Regions from separate parts of the Homo sapiens genome. Here regions 2 and 3 are each linked to region 1. The links are contacts of gene promoters, found by promoter capture Hi-C in blood cells and fetal thymus (Javierre and others, 2016). All regions are on one chromosome and are shown on one strand. Each heading gives the region's core, a stretch centred on a gene start or on the middle of the fragment in contact. The rest is flanking DNA. Distances are from core to core; before and after follow the strand shown. Region 1 holds the start of KCNB1 (potassium voltage-gated channel subfamily B member 1). Region 2 overlaps KCNB1 (potassium voltage-gated channel subfamily B member 1). Region 3 overlaps KCNB1 (potassium voltage-gated channel subfamily B member 1).

Region 1 (4,720 bases), core at 111-2,610:
CGGGACCGCCGCTGCCCACGGGCGGGGGCGCCCGGGCGGCCGGGACGATGCGCGGTCCCTGGCCCCAGGAGGCGGCCGCCCTGGGGGTGAGTGTTGGGGCGTACGGCCTTCCGTGGGGGTGCATGGGGACACGGACAGGGGGTTTGCCTGCCGCAGCTCGGCCTGTTGGTCTGCTCGGGCTCCGCAGCTCCAGGCTGGAGGGGAGCGGGGTGGGAGGCAGGCAAGGGCTGAGGCCTGAGGGGACGCGCAATCCCCATTCTGGGGCTAAGGCGTGAGCCCTACATGCAGGGGGTGCTCAGGGGAACCCCCCGAAATCACTAGTGCGCGGTAGGAGGATGGCACCTTTTGAAAAGGCCAGAAAATTTAGCTCATTTCCCCGCCTCCCACCTCCCCCACCCCTTCCCTTCCAAGCCCGGGGAAAGGCGCAGAACCCGGAGTTATAAAAAGCCATCGCGGGAGAGGAACGAGGAGGAGGAGTAGGAGGAGGAGGAGGAGGAGGAGGAAGAGGAGGAGGAGGGGGAGAAGGAAGAGGAGGGGGAGGAGAAGGAGGAGAAGGGGGCGGGGAAGGAGCGAGGGGAGGACGGAGCAGGCGGATCCCGAGGACTCTGCCCGCCCCTCCTGCGGTAGGGTTGGGGGCTCAGAGGGAGAGGCGAGAGCGGGCTTTTCCTCCTCGCGGCTCACCTTGTCGCTGGAGCAATCTCAGGAGATGCTCCAGTGTTTGGGAAGAGGGGTCGCTCCAGGACAGAGGGGCTGTTGTGCACACCCCGTCTGTTGTGACCTCGGACAGGTGGGCACCTGGAACCCCCGGAATTCCCCCAAATCTTTTAAGATTTGGAAAAAAGCCCGCTGCCATTCCCCCACCCCCAAAATCTTGATTATCTCGAGAAGGGGAAGGAAAAGAAGAGAACTCGTTAAAAAAAAAAAAAAGAAGGAAAGAAGAAGAAGAAAGAAAGAAAAAGATAAAGAAAGAAAGTTTTCATGCAGCTCCCCCTCTCTCCCCATGGCGGGGCCAGGTTCGGGACTCGATCGGGAGACCCATAATGAAGAGAGTTTCAGCACTCTAAGGGGCGGACAGCGCCCCGGGCGGCTGGGTCGCGCCTGGGCCGCAGAAGCCCAGGGTGGGGCCTCCCGGGCTCCAGGGGCATCTCTTGGGGCCCTCTCCCCGCCCCGAGGGGCGGCCCCTCCCTCCATCCATGGGGTGCGGCGGACTTCAGCACCGGCGGGAGGGACAGCGACCATCCGTCCTACCCCACTGAGCCGCTTAAGCGCGGGGGAAGGTCAAGGCCGGCTGGGAGCCTGGTGGAGAGGTGGGGGGCGGGGGGACAGCATGCCCAGCTCCCCGTTTGCTGACCCGCGTCCGCTTTCGCTTTCTGCCTCGCAGCCGTCGGGATGGAGGTGAGAAGACGGCCGTGACGCGCGCCCGCGGGGCCCCCTGCACCCCCAGCAGCCCACAGCGCTCCCTGCCCCCCTCCCCCGCAGCAGCGGGCCTTGCCGTCGAGTGACAGCGGCCTGGGGGGGCAGGGGGGGCGGGGGCGGCCGGATCAGCGATGCCGGCGGGCATGACGAAGCATGGCTCCCGCTCCACCAGCTCGCTGCCGCCCGAGCCCATGGAGATCGTGCGCAGCAAGGCGTGCTCTCGGCGGGTCCGCCTCAACGTCGGGGGGCTGGCGCACGAGGTACTCTGGCGTACCCTGGACCGCCTGCCCCGCACGCGGCTGGGCAAGCTCCGCGACTGCAACACGCACGACTCGCTGCTCGAGGTGTGCGATGACTACAGCCTCGACGACAACGAGTACTTCTTTGACCGCCACCCGGGCGCCTTCACCTCCATCCTCAACTTCTACCGCACTGGGCGACTGCACATGATGGAGGAGATGTGCGCGCTCAGCTTCAGCCAAGAGCTCGACTACTGGGGCATCGACGAGATCTACCTGGAGTCCTGCTGCCAGGCCCGCTACCACCAGAAGAAAGAGCAGATGAACGAGGAGCTCAAGCGTGAGGCCGAGACCCTACGGGAGCGGGAAGGCGAGGAGTTCGATAACACGTGCTGCGCAGAGAAGAGGAAAAAACTCTGGGACCTACTGGAGAAGCCCAATTCCTCTGTGGCTGCCAAGGTGAGTCTGGGATCTGGGGGCTGCTGGTCTGGGGGGATCTGCTTGCATCCCCATATTGAGGACCACTGCTGGAGGACTCTGGCTTTGTTCCCAACGATGAAGATTAGTAATGGGGAGGGGCTAGGACTGAGTCCCCAGAGGTGAGGACCAACCCCCTCAGACTTTTCCCATGTGGCACTGGTCACTCCATCTTTTTATTATCCAAGACGTTATACCCCTACTTGGTTGGAGAGGTTTCACAGGGACCCATAAAAAGCCACAGCAAGAAGATGGACACTGACGAATAAGAGAGAGAGCACAGAGAGACAACAGTGGCTTGCTGGGGTGGAGTAGGGTTTGCTTCCCTGTGAAGTCCCAGACCTAGGCTGGATTGGATCACCCTGTGATTTTAATATCTCCATATTTATAACCTCACTCTGCCCCAGCAAGGGAAAAAAGCAGCTTACAGACATGCTTACAGGACATTGAGATACTGTCAGATAGTTTAAACATAAGTAAGAAGGGACCCCGAGGGGTGGGTGTGGACCCACACGACACATGCAGTTGGTTGTGGATGCTTGCGGGTGAGGGGTCACCCCCTGGTTACTTATTTATTTGGTGAGTTTATTTCCAGAATGGTTTGGTGCAGCTTGTAAAGATGTTTCAGCTCTTGGAACAAGATGTAAATTTCAAAATAGGAGAGAAAAATGAGGCAATGTGAAAAATAAAGGAGGAGGAGGAGGAGGAGGCAGGAATGAGTTTGAACACAAAGAGTGGGCCAGAGAGTCTTTGGTGCTGCTGGGTAATGGCAGGGGCTGTAGGGGACTGAGGAAGGCTTGGGGTGGGAGCCAAGGCAGGGCAGGAGGGCACTGGTTGATCAGCAACTTCTCTACGTCAGGCTGGGATTTGGGGTTGCCTGGGAAAGATGGGGCCTGTCTTCATGTGCCCGAAGTGCTGGGTGCTGGGAGCAAATGACAAAACAGTGTGTGCAAGGCTATAAAAGAGGTTCTGTGAGGTTCACGGAGAACCCAGAAAAGAGAGATGTTGATGTTGAAATCCAGCAAGACCAACTTGGGAAACATGGGGAGAATGTAACTGAGTGTGGGGCCTAAAAAAAGGGGTCAGGTAAGTAGATTTGTGGTAAAAGAAAGAGGAGAGGAGGAAGCCTAAATATCCAGCCATATCTTACTAGCTAGGGCTGACTCCTGTCCAGCCCAGCCTTTCATTGTGGGGTCTCCGGCTCAGTTCTCACTGAAGGCCCACCTGCAGGTCCCAGTCTGAAGGGAGACTCCGTGGGGTCCTTCCTCCAGATCTAGCCACCCAAGGAGAGGCCCCTGAGAGTGGATGGAGAAGGGGTGGCTGGTAAGAGGGTGGAGGGAGCCCCCACGTGTTTTTTTCGTTTCCCTGTTGGCCCTAACAAGGATGTAGAGGCTCCTGGGCCTGGCTTCCTCCTCTGAGGCTGTGGGCTGTCTCTCTCCATAATCCCGCCCCCAATTTTGTGTCCAAAAAGCCTCCTCCTAAGACAGAGTCACTCACCCTTAATCAGCTTAGGATCAACAGACTTATTTTGCTATTTCCAGGCATGACACAGGTTCTCCCACTGCACATCCCATTTAGGCCCAAATGTGACTCTCCCTCCCTGTCCCATCCCTAAGACATGAGAACAAGGTACAGGGAACTGGACAATTTGCCCTCCCAGAGAAGAAGCAGGCACAGGGCCATGTTTTGGTCTGGCAGCAAGACCCAAGCACCGGGGCTTGCAAGAGGTGCTGTTTGGGAATAAAGAACCTCTCCTCTCCCTTGGGTTAATCCGCTAGCAGGGACAGCCTTGTGACCTCTCCATGATCCCAGTCTGGGGCTGCCAGCTCACATTCCTGGCAGATGGACCATCTAGGATTTTCTGTAGCCAGAGCTGAAATGGGGAGGGAGGCAGGCTCACTGGCCCTCAGAATAGAAATCCTGGCTGCCAATGATCAAACACCTACTGTGTATGGAGTGTAACAACGCAGCTCTGTTATTATCCCACCTTTCGCAAACAGTGAGGCTGAAAGAGGTTAAGTAACTTGCCTAAGGTCACACCACAGGCAGTCAGGAGTAGCCAGAAATCCAAACCGAGTGTTCTTTCTATAATGATCAAGTGCCGCAGCCTCCTCCCCAGTCTCCCGGCTTCCACTTTTGCCCCTGCAATCCATTCCCCACATAGCAGCCAAAGTGAGCTTTTCAAAATGTAAATTGGATCACATTATTCATCTGCTTAAAATCCTCCAGAAGTTTCCCATCACACTCAAAATAAAATTCAGACTTTTCATCCTGGCATACAAGGCCCAGGCAGAATCTGGCCCCCATGACCTCTCTGGGCTCATCTCTTTTGATCTCCTCTGGTTCACTTGGCTCCAGCCCCACTGGCCTTGCTGTTCCATAAACAGGCCAGAGTTTATCTGACCTCAGGACCCTTGCACTTGCTGTTTCCGCTGCCTGGAATGCTCTTCCCCAGATTCCCCCTTGGCCAGCCCCTTCTCCCCCTTCCTCATTTGAGCAGGTCCCTGCTCACATGTCCCCTCCTCATACAGACCTTCCTTGACCGCTGTTCTAAACAGTTTCCCTCCCCTCACTCTCTGTTGCATCAT
Region 2 (4,720 bases), core at 631-3,130, 110 kb after region 1:
ACACATATGATGAGATGGGATCATTCCACCACCCTTAAAAATATGTCTTCTCTGCTGTATACAAACCCAATTCATAACACTTCTCAGCATCTCCAGAGACTGTAGATCCCCCCAAGAGGGTGCAGTCCTGTTCTTTGCCGCATTAACAGAGAAAACGAGAACGTCACTCTTCCTAGGTATCTTCAGAGTATTCGCGCAGCAACTGCAAAGGGACTTAGGGGCAGGGAGAGTGTGAGGTCATCCCGTGCCAGGCAGAGGAAGCAGCACTCCCAAAACACTTTGCTGAACACGCAGTCTGAGCTGGGGGCCTCTTGAGGAATGACTGTGGGACAGTTCTCCGCCGACCATCTCACATGTCTCTTCTTTGTTTTCATCACCATTAATGTCCACCATCAGCACAAATGTGAAAATTCAGGGAAAAAAACAAATGCTTTTTGATAAAAGTAAATAGTTGTGATTTCCAATTCAGATATTTTTAGAGCTGATGCTATCTGTAAAAAATAATAATAATAATAATATAGTCTATTTTACATATCAGGAAAGTGAACATGTTTCAATATAGCCATATATATTGAGAAGGAACTTACCACCCCTTCTTCCAATCGAGGCATTTCATTTGTTGGTTGAAGCAGATGAGAACTGTACAGATTGAAAATGATTTGTTTTTTTTTTTTTTTAAAAAAAACGAAAACCAATTGGTGCAACTCTCCTTGTAACCAAAGGCCCTTTCTGCCTTCTGTGGTCATGTAGGACCTGGCCCTTCCTTCCTTGTGTATTTTGTCCAACCGTAAAGTAGCATTTTATTGAGTCACTTTTGAAGGACGAATTCAGAAGTATCATTAAGAACCTACCTTTTCAGGCTTCATAGCCAGAGTCCTATAGAGTTCTTATAGAAACAGAATAATTGAAATTCAGCATATACTATGCTTAGAAAGTATTTTGTTTGGGTTTGATTGGGTTTTTTTTTCTTTTACTTGTGTGTGTATGTACTGGGGGAGTATAGCTTTTATTCTGTGCTCAATTCGAAAGAGAGTATTATAAGTTTTCCCAGCCCATCCACCCGCTAAAAAAGAACATATCCAAATTTTAATATGTATACACCCAACCTGTACCTATGTACGTGAATATACATGCACTGGGAAATCTACTTAAGAGTCTTCACTGAGAAGTTCACTCGATAGAAAGGTCTTGATAGAGAAGAGAAGAGGAAAGCAATGGTCTGAAGGCAAATCCTGCTTTAACTTGGTGGTCCATTTCCCATTCATTCCTGAACCAATGAGAGCAGAAAGAAACAAGTCAACCCAAACAAGCAAACTAGGGGCTGGACGCGGCGAATGGATGCTGGTCAGTTTGGCAAATTCACTGAAACTCATCAAGAACCCAGCTGAACTTGCATTCCAACTTCCACAATTATCTGAAAGGGCTAGGGACCAGGTAGCCATGTGTCCCAATCACACGGGGGAGAGTCTGCCACCGGCGGTGAGAGAGGTGGGGAAGCTTTGGAGGAGACAGTATATTCACCTTTTTATCTTTGGGTAAAAGAAACCAACAGGACTTTGGTGCAGTAGATTTCTCAGTGCCTTCTTTAGGAATTCTATCTTAAGCACACTTCAAGGGGAAAGAAAAAAGGAGGAGAGAACATTTGTTCCCGTGAAGTCCCTTTCTCCAAAGGACTGGGGATCAAGAAGGAAGAAGAGTAAGAAGGAAAAACAACAAAATCCTGAGGAGGCCATTTCTTTTAACCCACCCAGCTTGCCCCTGAAAACTGCTGGTGATACAAACTTTTTCAAACTGACTTCCAGCTTCTCCATGTGTCTTGGTAACTGTAGCCTCGTCTCTGCCCTTTCTCCTAATAAGATCCATGTTTCTAAGGAGAAAAACAAAACAGTATTCTCTTCTGTAAAACTGTAATGTATTGTTGATATTTGTAACTATTGTATATTTCTGTCTTGCTCCAGTCCCAGCTGGAGTGTCTAGTTCCATGGACAAGGGGATATTTAAAATTCACCACGGACAAGAGCCACTAAAGCCAGGTCTCTATCGCTAATCTCTCTCCTATTCTTATTTCTCTACCAACTAATCTCAAGTAACAATACCCCAGGCTTTTTTTCAGCCTCAATTCAAGTAACTTTGAATCAAAAGAGAGCAAGGCAAAAAGCCTCCGGACATGCTTCTTTGGGAAAGGACTTTTTCTGTAGCTGCAGAGTGGGCAGGAGGGAGAAGGGGCTCCCCTGAGACCCCGGCAGGACAATGGAAAGCTTCCAGCCCCGAGCTGATGTTTCCTCACCTATCACTGCTTATAGGACAGCATCCAAATGCTTTCATGTCACTCAGCCCAGGCAACCCAAACCAGTCCTGGCTACACCCAGAAATAAGAGTTACCTCTGCATTTTCTGTTGCCATTTTTCTGGCTCTAGAAGTATCTGATGCGCGACTATGTCATAGAATGTCCACGCATCTCAGAGTAGTCTATTTTTCTGTTCAGATAAAATATATATATATATGTATTTTTAGCAAATTTATAATAGGGCAATTGAGTCTAATTTCTTCTTTTGTAATACAGAACAATATCTTAGGAGTTTCATTGTTGGTCATTATCGTAGCTGATGTTTTCTGGTCTTTTGCAGTTCCTACCATTGTCCCTTGGGCTGTTTGGGTTTTCTTCCTTTTGATTCTGATTTCTTGAGGGTGGGGAAAGACTTTGGGGTTTGACTTCCTTGTGTAGGCATTTCTTGACACTAGGCCTGGACTCTGTCAATGCTGTGACTTTCCTCATTCATTTCTGTGTGTTTCTCCCATTCGTTGTTCTTAAGAATCCAGGGCATGAATGCAGGAATGAGACCCAGGGAAGCAGAGCTACAGATGGCCCTCAAAATCAGGATGGGATGTGGGCTGGTTTCACTTATATCCCACACCCCTTTAGGGATCTGAAGGGACTGAGTTTTCTCATCCCCAGAGATCTTGGAACCAAAAATCTCATGCAAGCAAACTCATCACTGGCATTTCTGAGATCCAGAACACATGTGAGTCCCTCCTGGCTGGGCTGCTCCCACATGTCCAGCACCCTGTCGGCCTGTAACATCAATCAGAGCTGAAGGTCAGAGGTTTTTCAGGTTCTCGTGAACCTCACAAGAACATGCTGGGCCTCCGATCTCACCAACTTGTTTATCAGTTCCTTGTTTCGATCTGTTTATTTATTTATTTTTTTGTTATTATTATTTTGAGACAAAGTCTTGCTCTGTTGCCCAGGCTGCAGTGCAATGGCGCAATCTCGGCTCACTGCAACCTCCTCCACCCAGGTTCAAGTGATTCTCATGTCTCAGCCTCCTGAGTAACTGGGATTACAAGAGCGCACCATCACGCCCAGCTAATTTTTGTATTTTTAGTAGAGGCAGAGTTTCTCCATGTTGGCCAGGCTGGTCTTGAACTCCTGACCTCAGGTGATCTGCCTGCCTCGGCCTCCCAGTGCTAGGATTACAGGTGTGAGCCACCACTGCACCCAGTCCATTTCAATCCATTTCTAACAGCTTCACCAAAAAACAGTGGCCAGACACCCTTGCAGCCAAACCCTGAGAAGAGATGTCCCCGAATCTGCTAGCTCATCTCCCCTTCCCTTGCCAGCTGCCTGGCTCCATAGAGCAGGAGGTGTGTGGCAAGGACAGGGGCAGTTTTCCAGCTTCCACCTATCCACGCCTGGGGGAGTTTTTGGACTGTCCTGATAATTAATTCCAGAGGCAGTTTTCAGTCCTGGGTGGGCGGAGGACATCTCACTAGGCAGGATCTTCAGCAGAAAGTGATTCTCCATCCGTCAACTCATGCAGGAAGATGAAGAAAGCCCAGATAATCTCCAACTTGCATTCGTTTAGGTTTTGGTATACCACCCACCTCACTGTCAGCTGCAGGGCTTGGGGCTCTGCCTAGAATCAGAAATTTGAGCCAAACTGGGACCCTCAGATGGCAGTGAGCCATCCCATCAGATAACTCCCAAGAGGAAGCCAACTCAAATATGAATTTTATTATTCTGGACTATGACCCTGATCAGAGTTCTCCCACCCCGAAAACCTCTGATAGTCTGGTTTGAACCAGAGTCAAATAAAACAGACAAGATTTTTTTTTCCTCTGCACAAAAGCAAAAAAACAAAACAAAAAAAAGTCTGCCAGTAGTTTCCTGGGTTTGATGCCCAGATAAGCAAACACTGTTGCCTATGGCTGTTGCTGTTTTCATCAAGAAAGAGGTTATATAGTTTGCATTTCCATCCACTCTCCCTGATTTTATCTTAACCTAGAATTTCTCCTGAACTACCCCAAATGCCAACTTGAATTTGGGTAGGGCTCTGTTAATCGAGGGAACCCTCATCTTCACTTATAAACCTAATTCTCTGTTCCTCCCTCCAAAGATCCTGAAAAGATCTCCTAAAGGCTGGCCAGGATGGGGTGGAGTGGGGCAGTGCACCTGAAGAAAAAAACTTAGCTGCCAGCTGGCTGTATGCAAGTTCTCCGAAAATTTCTATTGTATGAAAGGGATGGGGTCAATTGCAGCTCAAATTAAGGAAGCCCTCCTAACAGGCTGGGTTGTCTGACCATGGAGCTCAATGCCATGGTGGACAGTGAGCTCCCTTATATCACAGGTGTTTAAAGAGAGGCTGGCTAGATGGTGTAAAAAATGGGCATTGCAGAGGGGCCCTAGCATTGCATGGAAACTGGGCTGAACAACCACAGA
Region 3 (4,720 bases), core at 1,601-4,100, 89 kb after region 1:
TGACCTCAGGTAATCTGCCCACCTCCGCCTCCCAAAGTGCTGGGATTACAGGCATGAGCCACTGCGCCTGGCTAGAGCTAGGGGATCTTTAAACCTACATTAGGCCATGGCCGTGTGGCTCCCAGGATTCTCAGGTTCAAAACATCCTATCAGGTCTTAAAGGCCTGCCTCTCTTCTCTCTTTGACCTCAACTCTCACGCCCTTTGTCTTCCTCCCTAGCACCAGGGACACTGGTCGCCTTTCTCCTCCTCTTCTTGCCAATCTCTTCCCTGCCCCAGGACCCTTGCACTTGCCGTGACTGCTGCCCGGACCGGCCTTTCCCCAGATCTTTGCGAGCTGGCTCCTTTGCATTCCTCAGATCCGCACTCACGCATCACCTCCTCAGTGAGGCCCTCCAAAGCCGTTGGGCTAAAGTAGTCCCCTATCTCCTGCCCGTCTTTTTTAATCCTCTAATTCTGCTTTACTGAGGTGTGGTAGGATGAGCGGTGGGGACTAGGAGGAGCTTCAGAGCAGTCTAGAAGCAGGAGAGACGAGGGGAAAATGCAGCCAGGGGCTCTAAGGAAGCAGCAACATGGCTTCTCTGCAGCCATATACGGATGGATGAGGGGCTGGCCCAGGCAGGGATTCCATCCGCATATTCCTGATCCAGGGCATCTCGCGGACCCAGCTCTTGGCCCAGCATTCCCTAAGGAACCCATGACTGCTTCTCTGGCACTGTTTAATCTTTTCCCTCATCGCTGGCTACACGTCTAATGATTTATTCCTGGGCTCCCAAACCAGATTCCTGCAGAAGCCAAGCGAGCCTCATAAACAACACGCACAGGGTGCACGTGAGATTTTAGAGTACAGGACTGGACTTAACACCGCGCAGCGGCAGCCTGGGCTTGCCACGGAGCAGCGTGGACCAAGAGTACCCAGAGCTTCAGATTTTTCTTGAGAAGCTCAAATGTGAATTCATAGGGAAAATAAATATTGGCAACGAATTCACTGTGTGGGCCAAAACTCCCTGCCGGTGGATGAGTGGGGGGCCGTCCTGCTGGCAGGGTGTCCTCGGTTCACATGCGTACCCTGGGGTACGCATTTTCCATGCATGATTTCATTGCTGCCTGACAACCACCTGTGCAGGGGGTATTATTCTGAGCCCCATTTTACAGATGAGGAAGCTGAGGCTCAGAGAGTTAATGTGATCATACATGCCAGAGTTCAACCTATATCTAGAACTAATCTGCTTGCCCAAAAGCTGAAGTGGTTCCAAACTCTGTACTAAGAGTGTCTACCTGTTTTGTCTGACTTCATCTTCCGATTCTGCCTGTTTCACACGGGAGACTCAGAGAGGTTAAGTAATGTACCGAAAGTCACCCAGCTGCCAAGGGCCAGGATTGGAACCCAACTTTGTCCAAAGTCAAAGTTTGTAGGCTAACCCCTTACTCTCTATCCAGTTTCAATATGAAGGAGCTTTGAGAAGTTCAAGTGACCACAGAATCCTTGGTGGTACTGAAACAATTATCTGTACAAGATCCTACTAAGCGTAAGCCCTGAGAAGTGCTAAGACTTCTGGCCCTTCTATGGAAACCCTGTGTTGCAGCCAGGGCTCTTAGATGACACTTTTTTGGAGAGAGTGGGATCCTCAGGAATTTTGTTCAAATGCTGACATCTGACCGCTTGTTCACTTTATGTGTCAACTCCTGGGCTTTGGTTGCTCCTGCCAGACCCCAGTGCAGGCTGGGAGAGTTTGGAGGATTCCAGATGCAATCTAGAATCTGCCCAGAAGCTTGCGGCTCATGGGGGAGCTTCCACCAGTGGGTATACCTCCTCCCGTCCTTCTCTCCACCACTCCTTGATCTATGGAAGAAGGGAACAGGCATTTCTTGAGGACCTGGTAGATGCCATGCACTTTCTTTGTGATATCTCAGTGTGATTCAGCCCCTTCCTTCCTGTGGATCCTAAACGCAAGTCATTTTACCTCTATGAATCTTAGCTCTCTCACCTGTAAAATTAAGATAACAATTTTGTTCAGTCAGATCACTTTTTATTTGCAAGGGTCAGAAATCCAGCCCAACTGGCCTAATCCAAAAAGAGCATTCATCAGTTCATATTGTTGGAAAATCCAAAGGGATGGCTTCAGGGATGGCTGGATCCAGGTGCTCAAATAATGTCATTAGAAACCTGTCTTTGTGTCTTGGCACAGAGTCCCTCTGCTTTGGCTACACTCTTGGGCAGATTTTTTTTCCCCAGAGAGCCAGAGTTGACCCTCCAGCCACTTCTGGTTGATATCCTGTTAACCCAACAGCCCCTGATGAAAGAGACCACCTCTTTCCCAATAATTTGAGAAAAAGTTCCAGGATGAACCCTGATTGACCAATTTTAGTCATGCCCACACTACTAAAGTAATCCCTGTGGCCAGGGAGATGAATTATCCTAACTGGTAAGCTTGGATCTCACTCTTACCCCCTGAAACGGAGAAACAGGGTCAACTTCACTTAATGCGTGATTGTGGAGGAGGAACAATTCCCAAAAAATGATGCTAAACTATCCAAAAACATATCCACCACACTAATACCTACCTCCTGGGTACTTGTGAGGATTAATTGAGATAGTATGCTGTGCCTGGCTCCCAGTACATGCTCAGTTACTCCATAGCCAGCCTTGTCAACTCCTTCCTGAACCTCTGACTATCCATCTCTGACCCAGCCTCAGAGTGAGACAGGCATGAATTCAAGTCCTAATCCTGCTGTGTGGCTCTGGGCATGTTATTTAGGGGCTCCAAGCCTCAGATCCATCCTCTGAAAAATGAAGGTGAAAAGAGGAGCTACTTCCTGGGGTGATGGTGAATAAATGCTTTGGTACCTCACATGTCGCGGGTGTGCAGTAAATGGTGGTCTCCCCTCTTGCCAGTTTTCTCTCTGTGTGCACACCTGCCCTAGCCAAACTGGCTTGACTGTTATTCCCCACCTCCAACCCTTTGAATATGCAGCTGCCTCTGCCTAGAACACCCCTACTCCCATCTCTGCCTGCTGGAATCCATCTCTAGCCCTCAAGCCCCAGCCCAAATGTTTCCTCCTCCAATGGAACCTCACCTTTTTGAGGCTTGGTTTTCACAATTGCAAAGCAGGAATTACGAGAGTATCTACCTCCTGGGGTTGATATAAGGAGTAAATGAGATCGGTCATGCAATGCAGTTGGCGCAGTGCCTGCTTTGGTGAGAAATCAATAAATCTCAGCTGTTATTATATCATTAGTATCAGGCATCCAGCTGCTAATTCAAGCTTGCATTTTCCAATAGTGCCTTGCATAGGAGGGGTGCTCAGTAAACATATTGCATTTGGGTGGTCCGATTGGGGTCATGGCTTCTAAACCCATCCATCCAAACTTCCATCCATCCATCCATCCCTCCATCCAACTGACCAACTCACAAACCATTCACCTGTTCATTCATTCAGGCAGTCATTTAGTGCACCAGTATTTGTTGAGTGCCAATGCCACATCTGGCTCTGTGCTGGGCAGTGGGGACCCAGCCTTGTGAAATAGACACAGTCCCTGCCCTTGATGTGCTAACCTAGGTTGGTGGAGAAGCGGAAAATAAATGAGTAAACAAACAAATAAACAAAATGATTTGGCCAGGCATGGTGGCTCACATCTATAATCCCGTCCCTTTGGGAGGCTGAGGCGGAAGGATTCCTTGAGCCCAAGAGTTTGAGACCAGCCTGGGTAACATAGTGAGATCTTATCTCTACAAAAAGAAAAAAAAATAGCTGGGCATTGTGGCGCACATCTGTGGTCCCAGCTACTCAGGAGGCTGAGGTGGGAGGATTGCTGGAGCCTGGGAGGTCAAGGATGCAGTGAACCATGATAACATCACTGCACCCTTTTGAGACCCTGTCAAAAAAAAAAAAAAATGACTGCAGATTGTGACAAATCACCAAGGAGGTAAAACAGTGCAGCAAGAGTGAGTGACTGAGGAAGAGGTATTTTTAATCAGGCAGTGAGGGACAGTCTCTCTAAGGAGAGACTGTGAGGGATAAGAAGGAGCCAGTCACAGACAATCTGGGATGAGGATGTTCTAGACAGAGAAACAGCAAGTGCAAACGTCCTGAGGCAGGAGTGGGCTTGGCATGTGGAAGAGCAGACAGGTGGCCAGTGTGGCTGGAAGGGAGTGACTATGTGCAAGAGCACAGAGAAAAAGAGATCAGAGAGGTCAACAGGGGCCAAGTCAGGCAGGGCCGTGCAGCCTCCATAAGAGTTTGGACCTTGTTTCAAGTGCAGCAGGACACCACTGGAGGACTTTAAGAAGGCGAGTGATGAAACTTCACAAAGACTGCTGTGACAGGGCAATGAAAGGGCTGACTCAACTTAATTCAGTCTAGGAAAAGCTGGTGACATTGCTACTGAGTCCCGAAAGAAGGAAGAAAGCAAACTGGTGAAGGGGCAGGGGAGGTGGCAGGAAAAGGTCTCTCCAGGCCAGGCCCAGGGAACAGCAAATGAAAAGGTGCCGAGGTCTCTGTTGACCTCCCTCTTAGAACAGGAAAATGAGAGGCTACTGAGAGTCCAGAAAGGGAAGGAAGGAAGGGTGTGGAGTGGAGCCAGTTAAGGACACAGGGAACTACTCAAGTTCCATGGAATGGAGTTGTTTTCTGAGCAACTTGTTCCCAGTCCATTGCTACGTTATTCTGGGCAACCGGTGTCTTTTTGCCTGTGTTACTATCAGATGGGTTGGCAGTCC

What was found. The method cuts DNA at HindIII sites, captures the fragments that hold promoters and counts their contacts. A CHiCAGO score of 5 or more calls a contact.
Region 2: a contact is called between a fragment that was not itself captured here and the fragment with the promoter of KCNB1 in region 1, in 3 of 17 cell types (endothelial precursors, M2 macrophages and M1 macrophages). The highest score is 8.1, in endothelial precursors.
Region 3: a contact is called between a fragment that was not itself captured here and the fragment with the promoter of KCNB1 in region 1, in 2 of 17 cell types (endothelial precursors and M2 macrophages). The highest score is 7.7, in endothelial precursors.

The regions. Positions count from the first base shown.
Region 1 is chr20:49,479,308-49,484,027 of GRCh38, reverse strand. It overlaps KCNB1 (potassium voltage-gated channel subfamily B member 1), which reads left to right and starts at 1,360. Exons shown (of 2, transcript NM_004975.4): 1 at 1,360-2,114. The coding sequence starts at 1,548. The HindIII fragment of the contact is 15,223 bases long and covers 1-4,720 here.
Region 2 is chr20:49,366,273-49,370,992 of GRCh38, reverse strand. It overlaps KCNB1 (potassium voltage-gated channel subfamily B member 1), which reads left to right. Exons shown (of 2, transcript NM_004975.4): 2 at 1-4,720. All of the region lies in intron 2 of LOC105372649 (a long non-coding RNA gene), which reads right to left. Among named protein-coding and RNA genes, the nearest start is that of SNORD12, 88 kb to the right of the region's middle. RefSeq lists an enhancer at 1,819-2,372. The HindIII fragment of the contact is 761 bases long and covers 1,500-2,260 here.
Region 3 is chr20:49,391,419-49,396,138 of GRCh38, reverse strand. All of the region lies in intron 1 of KCNB1 (potassium voltage-gated channel subfamily B member 1), which reads left to right. All of the region lies in intron 2 of LOC105372649 (a long non-coding RNA gene), which reads right to left. Among named protein-coding and RNA genes, the nearest start is that of KCNB1, 89 kb to the left of the region's middle. The HindIII fragment of the contact is 836 bases long and covers 2,433-3,268 here.